Regions from separate parts of the Homo sapiens genome. Here region 1 is linked to region 2. The links are contacts of gene promoters, found by promoter capture Hi-C in blood cells and fetal thymus (Javierre and others, 2016). All regions are on one chromosome and are shown on one strand. The core of a region is centred on a gene start or on the middle of the fragment in contact, and the rest is flanking DNA. Distances in the headings are between cores, read along the strand shown. Region 1 has its middle 3.4 kb from the start of DORIP1. Region 2 holds the start of SEC23A (SEC23 homolog A, COPII component).

Evidence for each region. Contacts are between HindIII fragments. The CHiCAGO score rates a contact against its expected background, and 5 or more counts as called.
Region 1: a fragment that was not itself captured here is called in contact with the fragment with the promoter of SEC23A in region 2 in 10 of 17 cell types (total CD8 T cells, total B cells, naive CD8 T cells and 7 more); the score reaches 20.9 in total CD8 T cells.

Annotation. Positions count from the first base shown.
Region 1 is chr14:44,890,840-44,896,970 of GRCh38, forward strand. No RefSeq gene overlaps it. Among named protein-coding and RNA genes, the nearest start is that of DORIP1, 3.4 kb to the right of the region's middle. RefSeq lists an enhancer at 6,081-6,130. The HindIII fragment of the contact is 4,162 bases long and covers 1,933-6,094 here.
Region 2 is chr14:39,099,439-39,105,724 of GRCh38, forward strand. It overlaps SEC23A (SEC23 homolog A, COPII component), which reads right to left and starts at 3,797. Exons shown (of 20, transcript NM_006364.4): 1 at 3,594-3,797. SEC23A-AS1 (SEC23A antisense RNA 1) reads left to right here and starts at 3,702. Exons shown (of 2, transcript NR_146545.1): 1 at 3,702-3,933; 2 at 4,107-4,374. RefSeq lists silencers at 3,403-3,482, 3,503-3,622, 3,783-4,012. The HindIII fragment of the contact is 19,881 bases long and covers 301-6,286 here.

The sequences.
Region 1 (6,131 bases), core at 2,764-5,263, 5.8 Mb after region 2:
TGTTATCACATTTGCTAAACCATCTACCATGACATGACAAGGGGCTCCTTTCCTCTCGCTTCCAATAACATTTTCCTTACTTTCCTTGAAGCCCTCATTGACATCCTCCTCAATACCTGTCAGGATTCTACTAACAGTCTCCTCAAAGCTCTTTCAAGTTCTTCCTTACATCTTGTCCGAAAGGCAATGCTCATGTTTTAGGTTTTTATTACAATGGCACCCCAAATTCTGTTCTACTTATCTAATGATGTATAAATGGGCTTCAAAAAATAGTTGCTTAGAACAATAATGATTTTATTATATCTCATGATTAAGAGAATGAGAGATTTGGGCAGGTTTCAGCTGGGTGATCTTTTTTTTTTAATTATACTTTAAGTTTTAGGGTACATGTGCACAATGTGCAGGTTAGTTACATATGTATACATGTGCCATGTTGGTGTGCTGCACCCATTAACTCGTCATTTAGCATTAGGTATATCTCCTAATGCTATCCCTCCCCCCTCCCCCCACCCCACAACAGGCCCCAGAGTGTGATGTTCCCCTTCCTGTGTCCATGTGTTCTCATTCTTCAATTCCCACCTGTGAGTGAGAACATGCGGTGTTTGGTTTTTTGTCCTTGTGATAGTTTACTGAGAATGATGATTTCCAATTTCATCCATGTCCCTACAAAGGACATGAACTCATCATTTTTTATGGCTGCATAGTATTCCATGGTGTATATGTGCCACATTTTCTTAATCCAGTCTATCATTGTTGGACATTTGGGTTGGTTCCAAGTCTTTGCTATTGTGAATAGTGCCACAGTAAACATACGTGTGCATGTGTCTTTATAGCAGCATGATTTATAGTCCTTTGGGTATATACCCAGTAATGGGATGGCTGGGTCAAATGGTATTTCTAGTTCTAGATCCCTGAGGAATCGCCACACTGACTTCCACAATGGTTGAACTAGTTTACAGTCCCACCAACAGTGTAAAAGTGTTCCTATTTCTCCACATCCTCTCCAGCACCTGTTGTTTCCTGACTTTTTAATGATTGCCATTCTGACTGGTGTGAGATGGTGTCTCATTGTGGTTTTGATTTGCATTTTACTCCTTTTAGTATCAAGGGAGGTCATCAGCAGTATTTATCTGCTGAATGGGAAGTCTGGAGGATCTGGAGACCTTCACTCATATATCTGGCATTGTGGCAGGAATGACTAGAAGGCTGGGCTCAGCTTGCTCAGCTGACCAGAATATAGCCTCTCCAGGATAGGGGTCTTCTCACATCATGGTTCAGGGCTCTAAGAGCAAGTATTCAAGTGAATAAGGCAGAAATTGCATGTTCTTTTATGACCTAGCCTCAGAAGCCACGGAGTTTCATTTTTGCTGTACTCTGTAGGTCAAAGGCTACTAGTCTACCCAGATTCAAGAAGAAGGAACAAAGACCCAATGTCTCAATGGAAACAATGTAAAAGAGTGTGCAGCCATTTTTTAAAACCATCCTAGCAGACTGCACTACAGAAAACGTTAAACCAAGTTTTTTCAAAGTGAAGTGAAGTGATAGCAGAGGGAAACTTAGATATATGCAAAGGAATAAAGAGCACCAGAAATACTAAACATGTCGGCAAATAAAAAGAACACTTTTAGTGAACTAAAGTCTGATTTTTCCCTTATTTGCTTACTTTACTTTCTGTGATCTGAGGGAGAAAAAGGACCCAGCCCATGTGGCTTCACATTGGGAAAAAGTGGCACCCACTGTTTCCTAAGATTTAGAGCTAGAAGGGGCTGGAAAGAGCTGATCCTGTCCCTGAATTTTTAGAACCAAATTCCTGTATCACAGTTGAAATGATTGTCAAAAGTAAGAACATAATGTTTGTTCACTGGGGGAAAAGTCTGTTGGGGATACCCAAAGGAATACGGGAATTTGAAGATGTGAATTCTATTTTTGGAAAGCTTAATGCAACAGAGTCTGATATAATGGCAAGTGACAGCTGCTTCTGGGGCTAAGTCCCCACGACTACCCCTTTCTTCTGGAAAATATATCTAGACTAAAGTTTATGACTAAATTTAGGGCCTATGTGTTCTGATTTTTCCCCAGATAATAAGGCTATGAGATCGACTGAATTGAATTGAGTTACAGAAATTAGATTTTCATGCCCTTCCTCATTGTTATTGTTGTTTATACAGCTTACATATTTTCTAGAGCAGGAACCTTCTTAACTTCAAGATCCTCAGGGACTCAAAGTTCATGATGGGAGCTCAGCAAATGTACTAGGATAGACAGATAAATGGTATTTGTGTACATCAAACTTGATCTAACGACCACTTTACCAAGAACATGAGACCCAACAGAAAAATAAGACTTTAAACCAATTTTTTAAAGGATAAGTTTCAAAAAAATGAAATAAAATGGGGTATATTTTAAATTTTAAGACTGGTAACAAAGATAGTATGAATTATTTTTTCATTTGGCCTGGCGCAGTGGCTCATCCCTGTAGTCCCAACACTTTGGGAGGACGAGTTGGGTAGATCGCTTGAGTCCAGGAGTTCAACACCAGCCTGGGCAATGGAGTGAATCCCCTTCTCTACAAAAAATATACAAAAAAAATTAGCCGGGCATGGTAGCATACACCTGTAGTCCCAGCTACTTGGAAGGCTGAGGTGGGAGGAGCCCTTGAGCCTGGGAGGATGAGGCTGCAGTGTGGTAGGCAACAGAGTGAGACTCTGTTTCAAAAAATAAATTAATAATAATAATAAACACTTTAAAATTATTTCTTAAATTCCCATATAGCAGTAAAAATGTACAGCAAGCACAGCACAAATGACAGGAGTAAAATAGATGTAACTTTATGCAACTGCAGAATCACTTGTTTTGTCAACCAGCATGGAAACTGTCAGAACTGTCAATCAACAAAGCAAGGGCGATAGAAAATGTGTCACTTTCAAACGGTATACAATAATAGAAATAATGACAACACATCATTATATCAGAGGGAGGAGAAAAGTGATATCAGGATATTTCTTTCTCAAGGCCTCTCATTGAGGGGTAATTATGGGCTGGTTGTGTCTGTCACATAGCCTCTCCAAACAGGCTCTGTAACTTTAAGTTCAGATATCAATGTCTTCCTCTCATCTTTTCAGATATTTTTACATCCCAGGATAATTACTGGATTATCTGTTGTGGTGGAGTCTGGACCTTTTTAAACATCTACCAACAAAGTTTATAGATTTAAAGCAAAAATTCAGCTTTTGGAAAAATGAGATTAAAAATAGTTTACTAGTAATGTAACTGAGCATTATAATTTGAATTCTAAAGAGGACTTATTGAGACTAGTAGAAGGCCGGGAGCAGTGGCTCACACCTGTAATCCCAGCACTTTGGGAGGCTGAGGCGGGTGAATCACCTGAGGTCAGGAATTCAAGACCAGCCTGGCCAACACAGTGAAACCCCGTCTCTACTTAAAATACAAAAATTAGCTGGGCACAGTGGCAGGTGCCTGTAATCCCAGCTACTCGGGAGGCTGAGGCAGGAGAATGGCGTGAACCTGGGAGGCGGAGCTTGCAGTGAGCCGAGATAGCGCCACTGCAGTCCGGCCTGGGCGAAAGAGCGAGAGTCTGTCTCAAAAAAAAAACAAAACAAAACAAAAAAAAACCCCAAAAATGTCCTATTTAAATTAACAATATTGGTCTCCAGTCTTTGCAACCAAAGAACACTTACTGATATCTCCACTGCTAGCATACTGTGTGACATATGGTTGATGATTGATAATAAATAAATAAAGTGTTTATAAAATGGTATTGGGCAACTAATTTTTTTGTTTTTGTTTTTTTGTTTAGATGGAGACTCGCTCTGTCGCCCAGGCTGGAGTGCAGTGGTGTGATCTCGGCTCACTGCAAGCTCCGCCCCCCTGGTTCACGCCATTCTCCTGCCTCAGCCTCCCAAGTAGCTGGGACTACAGGTACCCGCCACCATGCCCGGCTAATTTTTTATATTTTTAGTAGAGACGGGGTTTCACCATGTTAGCCAGGATGGTCTCGATCTCCTGATCTTGTGATCCGCCCGCCTCGGCCTCCCAAACTGCTGGGATTACAGGCGTGAGCTACTGCGCCCAAGCTGCGCAACTAATTTTTGACAAAAGCACAAAAGCAACCCAGTGGAAAAAGTACAGGCTTTTCAAAAAAAAAATTGCTGCGATGACTGGGTATCCATACATCAAATATGAACTTGGATACATGCCTCAAACTATATAAGAAAGTTAACTACAATGCATCATACATCTAAATGTACAGCTTGAACACATAAAACTTTTATAAGAAAACATAGGAAAATTTCTTTGTGAGCTTGGGGTAGGCAAAAATTTCTTAGAAACAACACTAGAAATGTAATCCATAAAATAATAAATAAATTAAACTTTATTAAAAGTTAAAACTTCTCTTCAAAATACACTGCTAAGAGAATGAGGGCCAGGTGTGGTGGCTCACGCCTGTAATCCCAGCACTTTGGGAGGCCGAGGTGGGCAGATCACCTGAGGCCAGGAGTTTGAGACCAGCCTGGCCAACATGGTGAAACTCTGCCTCTACTAAAAATACAAAAATTAGCTAGGCATGGTGGTGCACGTCTATAATCCCAGCTACTCGGAAAGCTGAGATACCAGAAACTCTTGATCCTGGGAGGCGGAAGTTGCAATAAGCCGAGATCATTCACTGCACTCCAGCCTGGGTAACAGATCAGGATTCTGAAAAAAAAAAAAAAAAAAAAAAAAAAAAAAGGCAGAGTTGGGGGGCGGTAGGTAAGCAGAAACTTAAGTGTGATGGGCATACTCATTTGATCACAGTGATGGTTTAAGGGGTTATACATATGTCAAAACTGATAAAAATTATACACTTTAAGTATGCTCTATATATTCTATGCCAATTATACTTCAGTAAATATATCTAAAAAAACCCTACAACTCAGATGTCAGATTTTGAAGACGGTGGAAAAGATGCAGAATGGAAATTTCAGTTAAAGGCCTCAGTGATGTTTGTGAGTTATCCAAGTATTCAAGGAATCCATGCTTCCTCCATCTAGCTGAGACTCGGCAGAGTTTAATGAGCAATCTCAATACTATTCTCCAGAAATGGTGTCATCCACCATACTATGGCTGTTTTCAGGAAGAGAATGACCTAATCAGTATAAAATGAACTCCATGTCTTGTGAGAGATTTATAATTAAACACATAATCCACATTTACAAACATTTTTAAAGGGCTTTTCTACCTGTAGGAGAGGATTAATATTGAGAGTGAACTTTTTGCAAGTTTTCCAACACACTAGTTTATCTCTAAGAGCCTCAGTTTCCTCATCTATAAAATACCATAAGAAATAAGAAAAAACAGGAAACTAAAAAGAGCAGGCTTTGCCAGAGCTATTAATTATTCTTTTTTGGGCAGAGCCAAAACTCAAGAAATGGAAGTCTCTCTTCCATTTCTAGACTTTTTTAGAGAGATCCATGAGGAAGTTCCCCTCCATAGCTTTGGCCGACCATCACACCGGTCAAGAAGGCATCCAGCCTCTCCCAGGCTCAGCCTGTGACGGAAAACCACACTGATTTACTAGGATAGCCTTGAGCTCTCTCATTAGCCCTCACGTGTTCTGAACGTTAGAGCTAACTTTCCAGACCCTCATTATTTGTTGAAAGGCTGGATGGGGAAAATCTCAACCAGATCTCCATGCCTACTTGCAAGGAGAGGTAGTTTTTGCAGGGTGGCCTGTGTTCTCCAGATGCAGAGCCATACAGGGCCTTGCTTCTTTACGGGAGATACAAAAACTCGGCCCTAATAAACAGAAATAGTGGTTGAGCCCACAAACTAGCATTAAGTTGTCCTAACTGTAATTTCCAGCTCCGTCACTTGCTGTGTGGGACCTTATTATCTCCAAAACCCAATTTTTTCAACTTCACAATGGAATTAAAACAATCTAATTTTTCAAAATGGGGTTAACTTCCACTGTAAGTTACAGTATATTGGCCAATAATTAACTTGAACACTAAAGCTGGCATTTAACAGATCAATTCAACTGTTTTCTAAGTAAATACTTAAACGCTTAAAAAACCGTAATTTACTGAGAAAACAAAGCTTTCTTTCTAGGTTAAGAATTTGAGAAAACAAGA
Region 2 (6,286 bases), core at 2,547-5,046:
TGAGGCACCGCTCCCCGCCATTAAATTGTTTTAAAACTTGTGCCTGCTACCATAAGCTTGACAAGTTCCTAATATGTAAAGATTTTTCTGATGAGATCAGTGTTGGTATTAATGTAATTTGTTTGATAGTATATAACAAAATGTATTAACATTTAGAAGATATACATTACTCAGTGAAGCAATATCTTCCAAACCGTCAATTTGTGATATGAAAATATCACACATGGGTAGATGATCCATTCAAAGTGTAGAATAGGCCAATGAGTTTTAAGGTAACAAAGTACAAAAAGGTCACTCCTAAGCTTTCAGATTCCACACTGCAATTAACCTTTTAATTTATTAATTAATCCTTCATACAATTCAACCAAAACAATATATCACAATAAACTGCAGAAACAGATATGAAAACCCACCTGTCTTCTATTTAGCCTTTTTTTTTTCTCTTTGGATACTCAATAATGTTTAAGTTAGGGGTTCTGAAAACCACTGCCTTAGGACCATTAGGAAACCTCACTAAGAAAGGTTCCAGGAGTCTTAGCAGGAAGACATTCACACACAGACAATAGCCAGGTTTAACTTTCTACAACTGGTTAAAAGGCTGGATTGTATCTCTACATTCTTACTTCTTATTAAGACATACTAAATATCACCTGAGTGATATCTGGGCACAACTCTCTTCTCTTCTTCACATTTTTTCCTCTCAATCTCCCTGCTCTAAGATCAATTTGCTTGCTAAATCACATCTATTATACTTCTTACATTCCCACATTCCAGCAGTAGTTTGAAGAAAATCCCACCTGTTTCTCAATTGGTCCAATTACATGGCTATGCACAACACTTCCCTGACTTCCCTCACCTTTCCATAGTAGGAGTCATGCAATCTTAAAATCACGAATTCAATTACAAAATTTGCCAGGCTTAGTCCCATGTCCGACAATGGCATATCTGAAATAAAGTCCTTTTACAAGCCAACTTAACTTTTTTTTTTTTTTTGAGACGGAGTTTCGCTCGTTGCCCAGGCTGGAGTGCAATGGCGTGATCTCGGCTCACCGCAAACTCCTCCTCCCGGATTCAAGCAATTCTCCCGCCTCAGCCTCCTGAGTAGCTGGGATTACGGGCATAAGCCACCACACCTGGCTAATTTTTGTATTTTTAGTAGAGATGGGGTTTCTCCATGTTGGTCAGGCTGGTCTCGAACTCCCAACCTCAGGTGATCCACCCACCTCAGCCTCCCAAAGTGCTGGGATTACAGGTGTGAGCCACCATGCCCAGCCACAAACTAGCTTTTCATAACATGATATTATTTGATAAGCACTCTCTCCCCTAATACTAACATGTTTGCATAAAAGTATTAAACCAAAGAAATATTATTCCACACACTATATTAGAATGCAGACTTAGCATATTAGTCTCTTTTTTTTTTGAGATGGAGTCTCACTCTATCACCCAGGTTGGAGTGCAGTGGTGCAATCTCGGCTCACTGCAACCTCCACCTCCCGGGTTCAGGCGATTCTCCCGCCTCAGCCTCCCCAGTAGCTGGGATTACAGGCGTGAGCTACTACACCCAGCTAATTTTTGTATTTTTAGTAGAGATGGGGTTTCACCACGTTGGCCAGGCTGGTCTCGAACTCCTGACCTCAGGTGATTGGCCTGCCTCGGCCTCCCAAAGTGCTGGGATTACAGGCGTAAACTGCCGCACCCAGCCACTAGTCTTTATTTTTTTTAAAAAGTGATACAAAACACAAAAGACTATTACAAAGAAATGTCCAATTTCAGTACAATATACTTTGGTTAAATAATTTATCATAATAGAGCTAAAAGCTAAGAAGCAAACCACTATGTCACTTTAACCTAGTATATCAAATATGTGCCCAAGTCTTTTAAAAGTAAGACTTCCCTGGCCGGGCGCGGTGGCTCACACCTGTAATCCCAGCACTTTTGGAGGCCGAGGAGGGTGGATCATGAGGTCAGGAGATCGAGACCAGCCTGGCCAATATGGTTAAACCCCGTCTCTACTGAAAATACAAAAATTAGCCAGGCATGGTGGCGGTCGCCTGTAGTCCCAGCTACTCAGGCGGCTGAGACAGGAGAATAGCTTAGCTTGTACCTGGGAGGCGGAGGTTGCAGTGAGCCGAAATCGTTCCACTGCACTCCAGCCTGGGTGACAGAGCGAGACTCCGTCTCAAAAAAAAAAAAAACAAAAAAGACTTTCCCTATGATAGTTTTTCAATATTCTAATTTTAAGCCCTTTTATTCATATCTAATTGAAAATGTACTTGCCAAGTAAATTTGAGTTCCTTCCAATTACATGTATTTGTTAGTTGCCAATTAAATTTGTCTCCTACTTTTCACTTCCAAAATCCTCAATGAATTGTCTTCTTATGATCTTGGACAATTAACCTCTCTGAATCCTGTTTTTCTCATCAGCAAAATAAGAGACTTGGACTAGAAAATCACAAGGTCCCATCTAACTCTAAAATTCTGTAAGTCAATTAAAAATAGCTGGACTCTGGCCGGGCGCAGTGGCTCATGCCTGTGATCCCAGCACTTTGGGAGGCCGAGGCGGGCGGATCACCTGAGGTCAGGAGTTCGAGACCAGCCTGGCCAACATGGTGAAACCCCGTCTCTACTAAAGATACAAAAATTAGCCGGGCATAGTAGCTCGCCCCTGTAATCCCAGCTACTCGGGAGGCTGAAGCAGGAGAATCGCTTGAACCAGGGAGGCGGAGGTTGCAGTGAGCCGAGATTGCGCCACTGCACTCCAGCCTGGGCGACAAAGCAAGACTCCGTCTCAGAAAAAAAAAAAATAGCTGGACTTCTGAAATGATGTTCATTCACTACCAGAGGAGAAAGAGAAGGAAAACTCAACATGCATTTATATTTAAATCTAAAACCTTTTTAAACCAAGTTAATTTGGCTAGTTATCCATGGCTTTGGACGGTAGAGGTTGAGGGAGTTCAAGTGAAAACGAGAATTCCACATCCCCACTTCAGTGATTGATGTAGATTTACTATGACCTTCCTCAGGCAGTACCTTTACCACCAAATCGGGAAACACTACCTACCGTAGAAAGAAAGCCCAGTGAGATAGGGCTGGTCCTGCTGGAAAACTGAACTCTTTGTAATCAAAACCCAAGGCATTATCTTTACCAAGCTCTTTTCCCCTTTAACCCCTTTAACTTCCAAGGCTGAATTACGGTGACGTAGTCAATTGGGTTCAAAGTCTAGGACACTCCATATCTGGCAAGGAATGAAACAGTAAGTCCAAGGGCCCAGAGGCGATGATGGACTTGGGTGGAGGTGGGTGGCCCAGGAGGTGGGGGTGGGTGCTGGGCGAGATGCTCGAACCACCGTTTTCCACATCTTTCCACCTAATCCAGGGGAGCTGGAGGAGGCCGGGCCCCCGGCCCCGGCAGAGCGAAGTGGGTGAGAGGGTGGCAAGCTCAGCACTCAACGCTCCCCGCGCCGGACCGGGCCTCAGCCTCCAGCACACCTCGCTGGCCCCGGGGCACCGAGAGGGCAGAGCCGGGACCACCCCAGGATCCCAGCCCCCAGCCCGCCGCCGCCAGCCCGCCCCCGCTCCCCGCTGCGCACCTGCGGTCCCCCAGGAGCGGAGACGAGGCGGCCCTTTCCTCACTGTCCCCCTGCAGGACCCGTCGCAGCCTCCGCTTTGCAAAATCTGTCCTCTCCGCCCAGCAGGAGCAGTCCGTGGCACCGCAATCAGGGGTGGCGCCACCCCGCCCCGGGCCTCAGCGAAGACCTCCGCCCGGCCAACATGGCTGGCGCCGCCTCTGCCACGTCAAGAGGAGGGGACGGGGCGTGAGGGCAGGAAGGGGGCAGGAAGGGGCGGGCGCAGAGTTACCAGGGCAGGCCACCGGACCCCTGAGCTTGCTTAATAACCGGAGGATTTGAGAAAGGCGCGCGGCGGGCGAAGGTACCGAGAGGGGAGGAGGGAGGAGAGGTAGCGGGGACCGAGCCAGAGGGGCGGAAGAACCCGGAAGACCCAGGCAGCCGGACGGCCGAGGGGCGTGGGACCGGGCAGAGCGGGACCGGGAGAGAGCGCCTTTCCCAGCTCCCTAAAGCCACAGCGTATCCCACTCCCTGCAGGTCGCAGAAAGAGTGGAGAACTGGTGCCACTCGGACACCTTAGCTCACCGAGAGAAATGGAGACGGCCTCCAGGACATCTTAGGACCCTGGTTGATTCCGAGAATCACAAATCACATCTCTGAAAAAAGTGAAAAGTTCATTCTTTCACTTAGTGCAACAAATGTTTACTGAAACTTACTATGTGCCAGACACAATTGAGATGCTGGTAATATGATGCAGGCAAAGTAGGCCCAGATCCCTGGCCCGAAAGAATTCACGTACTATTTATGTATTTTAGTCAGCCTGTCTTTTCCTCCTACATTGCCTCTGCCACTTCAACTCTGTCTCCCCCCACCCCCAAAACACACACACAGTACAATATTTGGCTGATTCATCTTGATATGTTCAATGTTTTTCTTTCCAAGAAAAAAGTTGAACAAAATGAGAAAGCAACAGATTGGTAAGACATTAGAGCTTGGTGGTCTCAGACAACCCCTTCCTTCAGTGAGGGGAATGAAATTAAGTGCCCATGGAATTAATTGCATATATGACAACGCCTAAAAGCCTGCAAAGTTTAGCCATATCAACATTTTATGGAATGGAAAAAAAGATCAAGTCCCTGTCCTTGAAAGCTCATATTCATGAGAAATAAGACAGCAGCACCAGGCTGGGCGCGGTGGCTCACGCCTGTAATCCCAACACTTTGGGAGGCGGAGGCAGGCGGATCACAAGGTAAGGAGTTCGAGACCAGCCTGGCCAACATAGTGAAACACCGTCTCTACTAAAAATACAAAAATTAGCCGGGTGTGGTGGCACGCTCCTGTAGTCCCAGCTACTCGGGAGGATGAGGCAGAAGAATTGCTTGAACCCGGGAGGCGGAGGTTGCAGTGAGCCGAGACCACGCCATTGCACTCCAGCCTGGGTGACAGAGTGAGACTGTCTCAAAAAAAAAAGCACCAAACATATTTCCCTTTCTATAATGTGTGTACTAAAGTTGTTTTGGAAGGTGGAAGAGGATGTTTGCTTGTCAAATTGTAATACAATCCTGAAGAGGGCAATGGGAATCGAAAGCCAAAAATTAGTGTAGGCTTCCAAATAAAGTAGGTTCAAGGTGCTACCTTAATGAAGATTCTTAACAGCACACAGCAGAGGTGTTGTTATAAAGGTGGAATAAGTACACCCACCAAAAGCGACAAGATCTAAGAATGAGTAGGATAAAAAGATCTTAGTCCATTTAGGCTGCTAACACAAATGCCCTCAACTGGGTAGCTCATAAACAACAGAAATTTATTTCTGACTGTCCTGGAGGCTGAGAAGTCCAGGATCAAGATGCCAGCAGATTTGGTGTCCGGTGAGGACCTGCTTTCTGATTCATAGATGGTGCCTTCTTTGTTCTCACATGGCAGAAGGGGCTGGCTAGCTCTCTGGGGTCTCTTTTACAAGGGTACTAATCCCATTCATGAGAGGCCAGCCCTCATGACCTGTTCACCTCCCAAAGGCCCTACCTCCCTATACCATCACCTTAGCAGTTAAGATTTCAACCTATGAGTTTGGTAGGACACAAATATTCAGACCATAGCAACATTGATGAGAAGATCCACAGAAATCCTGGAATCCAGCGAGGAATAAATCAAAGCATAGTACCTTTGGTAGATTCATTCATTTCATGGTTCCCAGAAAGGCATCTTTACCATCCAGCTCAATGAAGTCTTTTCAAAAACTCATCATTCCTGGCCAGGCACAGTGGCTCACGCCGGTAATCCCAGCACTTTGGGAGGCCGAGGTGGGCAGATCACGAGGTCAGGAGATCAAGACCATCCTGGCTAACATGGTGAAACCCTGTCTCTACTAAAAATACAAAAAATTAGCCAGACATAGTTGCGGGCGCCTGTAGAGCCAGCTACTCGGGAGGCTGAGGCAGGAGAAATGCGTGAACCCAGGAGGTGGAGCCTGCAGTGAGCAGAGATCGCCCCACTGCACTCCAGCCTGGGCGACAGACCGAGATTCCATCTCAAAAAAAAAACAAAAAAAAATTCATCATTCCTTTGTTTTCAGTTGATCAAAGGTTTTAATTCCCTATTACAATGAAATAGATGTTAGGATGCATAACAAACTCAGTTGCATCTGTCTTTATGTGCTTTAAGATGAATGACTTTAAGTCCAGGCGCAGCGGTTCACACCTGTAATCCCAGCACTTTGG